2 separate regions of the Homo sapiens genome follow, and region 2 is linked to region 1. Evidence: promoter capture Hi-C in human tissues and cell types (Jung and others, 2019). All regions are on one chromosome and are shown on one strand. Each heading gives the region's core, a stretch centred on a gene start or on the middle of the fragment in contact. The rest is flanking DNA. Distances are from core to core; before and after follow the strand shown. Region 1 holds the start of CASP6 (caspase 6). Region 2 overlaps HADH (hydroxyacyl-CoA dehydrogenase).

Region 1 (5,675 bases), core at 974-3,473:
TTTTTCCCCCTCTAGTCTCTAGTTACATACCGTAAGTGGATATTTTGACCTCCCATGAATCACAAATGTTCTTAATGGCATCTCGAATGATGAATCCTTTCCAGAAGATTTTCAATTTACTTTGCTCAGAACTATCAGAGGAATCATGATGACAGCTATAGCCTTATGAAATGTATTTTGTAAATAAGACTTGAAAGTCAAAATTTCTCCTTGATCCCTGGGCTTCAGAATGGATGTTGTGTTAGCAAGCACGATAACAGCATCAGTCTCTGTACATCTCTATCAGAACTCTTGGATGACCAGGTGTATTGTCAATGAGGAGTAATATTTTGAAAGGAACCTTTCTTCTGAGCACTAGAGCTCAACAGTGGGCTTTAAATATTCTCTAAGCCATGCTGTAAATAGATGTGCTGTCACTAACTAGCCTTTGTTGGTCCATTTATAGATCATATTTAGCATAATTCTTAAGGGCACTAGGATTTTCAGAATGGTAAAGGAATGTTGGCTTTAAAGTCATCAGTTGTATTAGCCCCTAACAAGAGCATCAGCCTGTTCTTTGAAGCTTTGAAGACAGGCATTGACTTCTCTCTAGCTATGAAAGTCTTAGATGGAATCTTCTTCCAATAGAAGGCCGTTTCATATACATTTAAGATCTGTTGTTTTGGCTGGGCACGGTGGCTCACACCTGTAATCCCAGCACTTTGGGAGACCGAGGCGGGCAGATTGCTCAAGGTCAGGAGTTCAAGACCAGCCTGGCCAAACATGGTGAAACTCTGTCTCTACTAAAAATACAAAATTAACCTGGACATGGTGGCACATCCTGTAATCCCAGTTACTTGGGAGGCTGAGGCAGAAGAATCGTTTGAACCCAGGAGGCAGAGGTTGCAAAAGATCGCACCACTGTACTCCAGCCTTGGTGACAAAGCAAGACTGTCTCAAAAACAAAAGATTGTTGTTTAGTGTAGCTGCCTTTATCAATGATTTTAGCTAGATCTGGATAACCTGATGCAGCTTCTACGTTAGCACCTGCTGCTTCACCTTGCACTTTTATGTCATGAAGATAGTTTCTTTCCTTAAACCTCAGGAACCATCCTCTCTGCTAGCTTCCAGCTTTTCTTTTGCAATTCCCTCACCTCTCTCAGCCTCCATAGAATTGAAGAGTTAGGGCCTTGCTCTGGATTAGGCTTTGGCTTAAGGGAATGTTGTGGCTGTTTTTATCTTCTATCCAGACCAACTAGAACTTTCTCCATATCAGCAATAAGGCTGTTTAGCTTTATTGTCTTTTGTGTGTTTACTGGAGTAGCATTTTTAATTTCCTTCAAAATTTTTTCCTTTGCATTCATGACTTGGCTTTTCTCCTTTGCACTCACAACTTGGCTAACTGGAGCAAGAAGCCTAGCTTTCTGCCTACCAACATTACTTCCTCACTAACTTAATCATGTTTGCTTTTGATTTAAAGTGACAGGCTCTTCCTTTCATTTGGACACTTAGAGGCCTTTGTAGGATTATTAGTTGGCCTAATTTCAAAATTGTGTTTCCAGGAATAGGGAGGCCCCAGGAGGGGGAGAGAGAAGGGAAAGTTCGGTGGAACAGTCCAAACACATACAGGGCTTATGGATTAATTTCCCCTTCCTTTATGAGCGCGGTTCATGGTGCCCCAAAACAATTGCAATAATATTAAAGATTACTGATCACAGATCACAACAGCAGACATAATAACAATGAAAAATTTTGAAATATTGCGAGAGTACCAAAATGTGACACAGAGACACAAAGCGAGCCAATGTTGAAATACAGGCAGTATCTGCTAAGCGGTATAAAACAATCTATGCCTGTACCTCTAGAAAGTACAGGCATAGCAAAGTAAGGAATAGCAAATGTTTGGGGCAGCTGGGATTAAATGAGTCCGAGCTCACACAAGTGATGTGAAATTGCCTCGGGCTAGGCGGTCTGTGTGTCCCCCCGGGTGGCAACTGGCATGTCCCCAGGGCACGGTTAGTCCCAGCGGGCCTGGAGGCGAAGACCGCGTACCTCTCCCTGCCCCCGCGCTCTTGGTCCCCGCGGGCTCCGGAGCGACTGGGAGGAGCTTTAACTCTGGGAAGGACCAGCCCGATCCACGGGAGCCCGGGCGGCGCGCAATCAGAACCAACTGGCCCCACGCTCGGGGGCAGGGGGCGGGGCCGCCGAGGAAGGGCCGAGGGCGGGGCCGGGCCCGGGAGCCTGTGGCTTCAGGAAGAGGAGGGCAAGGTGTCTGGCTGCGCGTTTGGCTGCAATGAGCTCGGCCTCGGGGCTCCGCAGGGGGCACCCGGCAGGTAGGCAGGGGGCGTCGACTGGGCACCGAGCAGGTCTGCGTCTTGCTCCGGCTGGAGGGGAAACGAGGGTTAGTGGACCGGGCGCGCGGACCGGAGTGGGGCCGCGGGTTCCTTCGGCTTTGCAGGGCGGCCTGGAGAAGTTGCACTCTTGGATTGAAGCGCTCAGGGCGGGTGGGGACGGTTTCGCGCTTCAGTCTAAGAAACACTCGGGGACCTGGCTGCCGCCTCCTGGCGGTCCCGAGTAGCGACGCCGGCGCCGGGGCGTGCCCCTGCCGCCTTTGTCCTCCGGGGCGATGAGCGCTTTCGGGGCGCCCCGGCTGTTTAAACCTTAAAAGGCTGTCCCCACGCGGGCCTGGCGTTCCCCCACACCTGGCCGTTTGAAATGTTGGGGGTTGGATCTTTTGTTTGCTCACTTCGAAAAGTGAAAAGGAGGGGTTGTTCCGCCGAGTCATAATGAAAACATAACAGGCCCGCGGGGTGCCCGGGCCAAGACCCTGGGTCCTCCCGGGCTTCAGCTGGAGGCGGCCAGTTCCTGGCGGCCAGCACACCCCGGTATCTCTCTTCTTCATCCAGGAAACCTGCTGCTGTCTGTCGGTTTGAGCCAAAACCACAATAACTTTTTTCTGCAAAGTAATCAACTGCTAAGAGCGTACGTTCTGTCACTTATTACTGGTAAAGTTTAGAAACTTCAAGCCTGGCCAGAGTGAAACAAACAAAAAGGTCGAAACGCCTGCAGTTGGCCGGCCGTGGTGGCTCACGCCTTGTAATCCCAACACTTTGGGAGGCCGAGGCGGGCGGATCACCAGAGGTCGGGAGTTCTCGACCAGCCTAACTAACACGGTGAAACCCCGTCTCTACTAAAAATACAAAAAAATTAGCCAGGCCTGGGCGCAAGCTACTGGGGAGGCTGAGACAAGAGAATCGTTTGAACCCTGGAGGTGGAGGTTGCAGTGAGCCGAGATCGCCCCACTGCACTCCAACCTCGGCGACAGAGTGAGACTTCGAATCAAGAAGAAAAAAAAAAAAAAAGAACGAAACGCCTGCAGTTGGTTAGAGTGCCTTTGTTTAAGAACTCTTTATATTTTGCTGCACAAAGGAAATGGTGCTCCAGAGGCAAGCTGTAAAAGTCACATGGTCGTAGAGGAGGTAGATAGGTAGCCTTGTCCTGGAGGCACAGTGCAGGGTCCAGTTGCAGTCTCTAGGGGCGGGAAGCCGGGGCTTTCCTTCACTCACCTGCTCCCTTCCTCTTCTTCCTCCACCGCACTCCCCAGTGCATGTTCTAGGCCTGATGGAGGTTACTCTACATAGGGTTACTAAATACATTGTTGATGGAGCCGATGGGTAGATTTTCATAGAGAGTGCAGTGAATGAAGACGATGACAGTAGAATGACCGAAGTCGTTTGGGAAGTTGAACAAAGTTTAGAAAGGTAGCCGGTCTCGGGTGGGAGGGGCTGCGTGGGGATGGGCCTACAGAGACTTTGGAATCTGTAGGTGGGCTGGCTTTCAATCCCAGCTTCACTTTGCCGACCTTGGCACGCCTGGCCCACTTTCTCTGTCCCTGTTCCTGAGCTGTGGAGCTGTGAGATAAGGTATCTAAGGCATCAGGCCATCAACAAATGGTAGCTGGCAGGATTATCTGGAGGGACTATCAAATTAGAGTGAGGTGAAAAAAGGAATGATTAGTTTTGTAAAACCTAAGCTGATTTAAGGAATAAGGAGGTGGCAGTTACATTATCCTGCAAAGGAAGAGAAGTGAAAAGAGGGCCAGACACAGTGGTGGGCGCCTCTAGTCCCAGCTACTGGGGAGACTGAGGCAGGAGAATCGCTTGAAACCTGGAGGTGGACTTGCAGTGAGCCAAGATTGCGCCACTGCACTGCAGCCTGGGCGACAGAGGGAGGCTCTGTCTCAAAAAAAAAAAGTGAAAAGAGGTCAAGAATCAGGTTTAAAGAAGGGCACATTTTTGATAAGTAGATTGCAGATGAAAAGGAATTTCTATATCTGTTATACAGGGTAGCTCCTTCATTAAAATTTATTTTCTCCATATCAATAAAGCTATTTCTTACTTTATCCAGGTTTTTAAATATTAACGCAGGCCGGGCGTGGTGGCTCATGCTTGTAATCCCAGCACTTCCAGGAGGCTGAGGCAGGTGGATCACTTGAGGCCAGGAGTTCAAGACCAGCCAGGACAACATAGCAAAACCCTGTCTCTACTGAAAATACAAAAAAAAAGTAGCTGGGTGTGGTGGCGCATGCCTGTAATCCCAGCTACTCAGGAGGCTGAGGCGGGAGAATCGCTTGAACCCGGAGGCGGAGGTTGTGGTGAGCCGAGACCACGCCACTGCACTCCAGCCTAGGCAACAGAGCAAGACTCCATCCCAAAAAGATAGTAATAAAAAATAAATATTAATGCGGCATAATGATACTTAAGTGCCCCCTTCTGGAAAGCTTGTCTTCTTGGGATACACAGCTCAAGGTGGTCATGATGTGTTATTTTCTCTCAATCTGTGGGTAAAGTTTATCAACTCCAGAAAAGTATTGGAACTTAGGTCCTGGCATCTGTCTCCATAGCTTTTTGTTCTGATTCAGTGTTTGCTAGAGTGGCCACTGGACCTGGTCATTAACTGGTACTGCAGGATGCAGGGTGCACTTTGTGAGAGTGAAGGTAAGTTACAGCTGGCCAGCATCAGAATTGGGATGTCCAGAGCCTAGGTTTTTTTCTACATCCGTAGCATTAACAAACAACAACAACAACAAAAAACTTAAAAAAAAAATCCCTCACTGAGGTTGCCAAATCTGTTAACTTTGAAACTGAATGTATTAAGAGATGGGGTCTAGCTCTGTTACCCAGGCTGGAGTATGGTGACTATTCACAGGGGCAGTCATAGCACACTATGTCCTAGAACTCTTGGGCTCAAGAGATCCTCCTGCCTTGGCCTTCCAGGTAACCGGGACTATAGGCTTGCCACTATGCCCGGCCAGAACGTCATTTTAAACAGATTTTCTTGAGCAGCTACTTAATACTAGTTAGCCATTCCTAAACCTGTAGGTCTTGACTAATGTGAGGGCATATTTGAGACAACCCAAACTCACATCTTAAGTTATTAATTTTAATGTGTCAGCTAACAACTGGGAAGCTACTTCTTTGGCAATATGAGAAACAAGAGTTTTAAAGACCCAAGCAAGAATACATCTCCAGTGTTTTCACCCTGAGGGATATGAGTTAGTTTGCTGAGCAGCCATTTGGCACAGCTTCCATGAGTTAGGTTGTGAGCCGCCTTCGGCTCAGCAGTCAGTATGGAGCAGAAGCCACAGGAGGTGAGCCGCTGGCCTGCTGCCACCGAGGAGGACACTGAGACATGAG
Region 2 (5,675 bases), core at 2,336-4,835, 1.7 Mb after region 1:
GATGCTCACCAAGGTTTCAGAACCACTGCTCTAAGATCTGTGCTCTGATCTGGCACAGATTAGAAACAACTGGGAATATTTAAAAAGCCCAAACCCCAGGCCCCACCTACAGATATTCTAATTCCTCTAGTCTGGGGTGGTGCCTAGTCATTGCTATTTTTAAAAACACCCCCAGATACTGAGCACTGCCCTAAAATAACCTGTCGGCTCTGATCCCTATCCCTGTCTACACCAGCCACTCCTAGGTTGCCATCTATCTCCTCAAACCACTGAGAAGCTCTAAACCAATTGAGTTCCAAAGTCTTCCTGTTGCTCTCTGAAAGTTCCAGACGCTATGCTGAAGACACTTTTGGGAAGACTCCTCCCCCACACACTCCCTAAGGAAAGGTCAAGCCCCACCAGGCCTCCTGCCTGGGACTCTTCACATCAGGGTCTTGCTCCATCAGTCCTACATAAAGCTTGCTTAATTCCTTTCTTGAAGGTCAGGCCCTGCACTTGCTTCCTTGACTATGTTTGTTCTAGCCCCTTTCTCTGCAATAGCACTTTTCTAGCCTTGACCTCTGGCCACACTTGCATCTACCATCCCCTGTACAGATTCCTTGATGGTCACCTGCCTGCTCCTGGCTGACTAACCACCACCTTTGAGCTTTGATCCTCCTTTCTTCTCCACAGGCTACAATGCTGGGAGAAAATCTTGAATCTCCTAGAGAAGAAATTCCGTGAAAGACTCCACAACCAACTGAAACCAGAGCCCATTGAGGTTTGCCAGCCCTAATAACAGCTCCCATACAGAGTGCGTTCCAAATGCCAGACACCAGGCCTATCCTATCTCATTTAATTTTATTTAATCAGTTCTCCAAGGTCAAATGTCAATTTTAATGAAGCATCACTTTAGTTATGCAGTTTGTTCTTTCGAAACAAGATAATTATGATATTAAAATCTGGATTAAATGAGCATATGACTGTATTTGATATTTGGAAGAGGAAAATTCATTCACAGTTACCATTATGCCTATAACTAATTATTCTTCCAAAGAATGAATCCGGGCAACACACACATTTACAACATAAATACTGTACTGACCATTGTGAGGCCCCATTCTTTAGCATTCGAAGTCCTAACACCAACATTATCAAGTGCCTGTAATTGCTCCATTCTCCCACCATTTTTCTTTCTTCAACTTACGGCAAAATGTCCTTGGAGGAGACACTGTGGCTTCACTTGGCACAAATAATAATATGAACACAAATGCACATAAGGGGATGGATATCTCAGATCTCGTTAGTGATGAAACATTCAAATCATCCAGAATACACTTGTATTAATTCTAGGATCATCCAAAAAAAGGCAAATTTTAAGATTGTTTAATGTAAGTTTTAGATCCCCAAAGACCCTAGTTTGAAAAACAATGGCTTGATTTAATCTTTTTGGTAACCATAAGATCAAATATTAAGAAAGAAGGTATCTTGATTAGGAGTTTCCAATACAGAAAATAAAGAAAGAAAGAAAAAAAGAAGGTATATATGGTGAGTTACAGTATAAAATAAACATTTAAACTGAATACAGTATTATCACTTCGTTTAACATTCCTTTTAGTACCACATAACATCCTGAATACTAGTTTAGGGTCATCTTACCTCTTTAACAATAGCCTCCCAGCTGGGCTTCCAGCCTCCAAGCTCAGCTCTCCCAACCCTTAACATCTCCGCAGGGTCATGTTCCTTCCTCCAGCAGACACCCAGGTCTTGAAGTGTAGTAACTCCTAAGGCTGTCCTACACATGTTCTTCAGCTGCTTCTTTTGACCTTAAAAATCTCTTTTCCATCTAACTTCTCTCTTCATTCCTTTCTTGAAAGAATTATCCCTCATTGCTGCTGAGGCCAACCTCTTTCCTATGACAGATATGGAAGTTCATGGTTATGGCTTCCAGTTACTCCTCCTGAATAAAATCTGGGGTTCTTCAAGTTTGGATTATTCATTCACAGCTTTTGGTTACATGTTGATTTGAGGCTACAAACAGAACAAGAAGTGCTAAGTTTCTCTTGGAAGCCAGGCAGCTGCACTGGAGTATACCACAACTTGGACAGCAAGGAAGCCTTTGTACAGTTTGGGTAAAAAAATGCAGAGGTTAGAAAATGCTTCCTTTTGAATGATCAAAGGTTACAGACAAAAACACTTGGCTTCTCAGAGGTGTGTGCTTTTGATCCTCTGCCCAAGACTTGTGCTCCCCTAGGGATGGACCAAAACTACCACTTAGACCACCACGCTGCGCATGCCACTGCATTCATTCCTTCACTGACTGCAGCCTATTGACTCAACACCTGCCTTGTAAGGTGAACAAACAAAATCCCCTACTCTCAAGAGAGCTTGCACTTTTCATAAATTATCTCCTCTGATCTTCATAACTGCCTTTGGGGAAGGCACATTATTCTCACTGTCTACACGTGACAGGGAGCTCAAGCTGCCTGCTCACATGCCTTTCTTGACCCTGGAAGGCATGGCGGGGTCTGAGGGCAACAGCCTGAAACAGTACTGAGACAGGCAAGGGCCAGACTCCAGAGCCTGTGTGCCAAGTTGGGGATGGAAAACATTCCTTAACCTCAGCAGGCTGTCTCCTCATCTATAAAACAGGGGCAACAGGGTTGTTGGGAGGGTTAAATGGGTTAATACAAGTCAAAAACCTGCAGTGGTGCCTGGCACATCACAATAGCTTGCGGGTTTTTTTTTTGTTTTTTTTTTTTTTTAATTCTGGGCTGCCCCCTTCTTCTTTCTGCAAGGGTCTGAGGCCTATTGTTGGATCCAGGCACAGCCTTCTAAGGTAAACTATTTTATTTTGCTTTTGATCTCACATCTTCTGATTTCATGACTTGTTTTTCAGTTTTCATTTTCAAGTTTTCCCTTCTGTGTCCTTCTATTTTTTTACAAACGGGCTGGGATCCTGCTCCATATAAAAAGGGAGGAAGAAAAGGATCCTCCTTAATCACCTGAGGCTGGCCTTTGCTTTACCACCAAAGTCTTTAAATTACTTGGTGGCATGGTGATATGTGGAGAAACAAGCCTATAGTTGGAGTTCCTGGGTTTAAAACCTGGCTATGATTTGAATGTGTCCTCTTCAAAAGTCAGGCACTGCCAATATGATAGTATTGAGAGGTGCGGCCTTTAAGAGGAGATTAGGCCATGAGGGCTCCTCCCTCATGAATGGGATTAAAGGTTTTTATAAAAGGACTTGACGGAGAAAGTTCGTCTAGCTTTCTTCCACCTTCTGCCATGTGCAGACAGCCTTCTTCCCCCAGCAAGACACAACGAGTAGGTCTGCACCAGACACCAAAGCTGGTACCTTGATCTTGGACTTCCCAGCCTCCAGAACTATGAGAAAATAAATTTCTGTTCTTTATAAATTACCCAGTCTCAGGTATTCTGTTAATAGCAGCAAAAAAAAAAAAAAAAAAAGACTAAGACACTGATTTAGCCACTCACTCACTGTGTGACTTTGGGTGAGCTACGAAGCCTCTATGTCTTGGTTTCCTGATCTGTCATAAAGGTTAGTAACAAAGGTACCCACCTCATAAAACTGTTGTGAGGATTAAAGAAGTTAATGTGTTTAACATGCTTAGACCAGTGCCAGGCATGTGAAGGTGCACAAAGCTTGTTAGCTGCTATTTTATTCACTACACTTGGTGCTTCTACTTTCTCCTGAGCCATTAAATTCCTAAACTCTAGTAATATGGCTTATTTCAGTCTGTTAGTGCTGCTATAACAAAATACCAAAGACTGGGTAATGTATAAACAACAGAGATCAAGATCATCAGCATGTTCAGTGTCTGGTGAGGGCTGTTCTCTGCTTCCAAGATGGTGCCTTGCTGCTGCATGCTCTGGAGCAAAGGTCCCCAACCTTTTTTGGCACCAGGAAGACATGGGAGACAATTTCACGGAAGACAATTTTTCTACCGTCTTGCAGGGAAGAGGGGATGGTTTAGGGATGATTCAAGTGCATTACATTGATTGTGCACTTTATTTCTATTATTATTACATTGTAATATATAATGAAATAATTATACATCTCACCACAATACAGAATTAGTGGGAGCTCTGAGCTTGTTCTGCTGCATCTAGATGGTGCCATGTGGGGATAATGGGAGACAGTGACAGATCATCAGGCATTAGATTCTCACAAGGACACGAAACCTAGATCCCTCACATGCACAGTTCACAATAGGATTCATGCTCCTATGAGAATCTAATGCAACTCTTGATCCAACAGGAGGCAGAGCTCAGGTAGCAATGCAAGTGATGGGGAGCAGCTGTAAATACAAATGAAGTCTTGCTAGCTGCTCACATCCTTCTATGTGGCCCGGTTCCTAATGGGCCACGGACCAGAAGTTGGGGACCCCTGCTCTGGAGGGGACGAGCACTGTGTCCTCATATGGCAGAAGGGAGAAGAGGCAAAGTTGGTCTCTCAAGCCCCTTTAAATGGCACTAAGCTGTTCATGAATACAGAACCCTCATGACCTAATCACCTCCTAAAGGCCTTATCTCTTAATACTGCTGCACTGGGGATTCAGCTTCGACATAAATTTTGGAGGGAACACAAACATTCCTATCAGAGTAGCTTCTTCCACCACCACTGCTGCATGAAATTAGATACAGTTGGTCCCCCCTTTATCTGTGGTTTTACTTTCTGTAGTTTCAGTTACCAACAGTCAACTATGGTCCAAAAATATTAAATGGGAAATTATAGAAATAAATGATGCATGTTTTAAATTGCATGTCATTCTGAGTAGTGTGATGCAATCTTGAATTGTCCTGTCTGGGAGGAGACTCATCCCTTGGTCCAGCATATCCACACTGTATACTACCCAATCCATTAGTCACTTGGTAGTTGACTGGGTTATCAGATCAAAAAGACATAGTATGTATAGGATTTGGTACTATCTGCAGTTTCACGCATCCACTGAGGGTCTAGGAATGTACTCCCTCCCCTCGTAAGGGGGGACTACTGTAACTTATCAATGGTCTACTAAATTGCTAAAGTCAATGCCTGTTCTTTGGCTTCATCTTCTACAACAGCTCTGTACATTGCCAATAAAAGTTTCATTTTTGAAACTCTTCAGTTTCTTATCTGTCTGTTCCTTTTAGCCATATTAATTGACCTCTCTTGATCTTCTAAGCCTATAAACAAGGACTTCCTTCAAGGTTCTGTTTCCAATATAATTTCCTTCTGAAATTCCAATCGTTCTCATACTTCCAACTGTGCCTGAAACCAAAATAATCTATCTAAGCTGCAGTTATCACCTTGACCCTAAAATCAATTCTCCTTGGCCTTCATTACTGGTACCACTATTCTGTAGGTCACCATTTTCTGGACAACACTTTTTCCTTAATCCCAACCATTAACTGCTGTCCAGAAATGTTCTATCCATTATTCAGGCCCATTTCAAATGCTACCCTCTCCATGAAGCCTTTTTCCAAATGAATGTACTTTCTATTTTGAAACCTCAGAACTAGATTTTTACTGCTCTTATTGTACTACTTTACACCAAAGTAAACTGTGTCATTTAGATCTCTGTCTAATCTCTGCTCTTAGATTTAAAATCCCTTAATGGCAGAAATTGATTTGGTCTTTGTAGCCCTTAGTACTTATCACATGCCTTGAATATGATAGCTGGTCAATAACT

Evidence for each region. Contacts are between HindIII fragments. The study calls those that stand out against the background at their distance.
Region 2: a fragment that was not itself captured here is called in contact with the fragment with the promoter of CASP6 in region 1 in 1 of the 25 tissues and cell types used here (dorsolateral prefrontal cortex).

Annotation. Positions count from the first base shown.
Region 1 is chr4:109,699,993-109,705,667 of GRCh38, reverse strand. CASP6 (caspase 6) reads left to right here and starts at 2,223. Exons shown (of 7, transcript NM_001226.4): 1 at 2,223-2,312. The coding sequence starts at 2,273. RefSeq lists enhancers at 1,802-1,851, 2,742-2,801, 3,562-3,621 and silencers at 2,012-2,301, 2,452-2,561. The HindIII fragment of the contact is 8,740 bases long and covers 1-5,675 here.
Region 2 is chr4:108,000,881-108,006,555 of GRCh38, reverse strand. The region is part of intron 1 of HADH (hydroxyacyl-CoA dehydrogenase); the gene reads right to left. Among named protein-coding and RNA genes, the nearest start is that of HADH, 14 kb to the right of the region's middle. The HindIII fragment of the contact is 3,066 bases long and covers 2,053-5,118 here.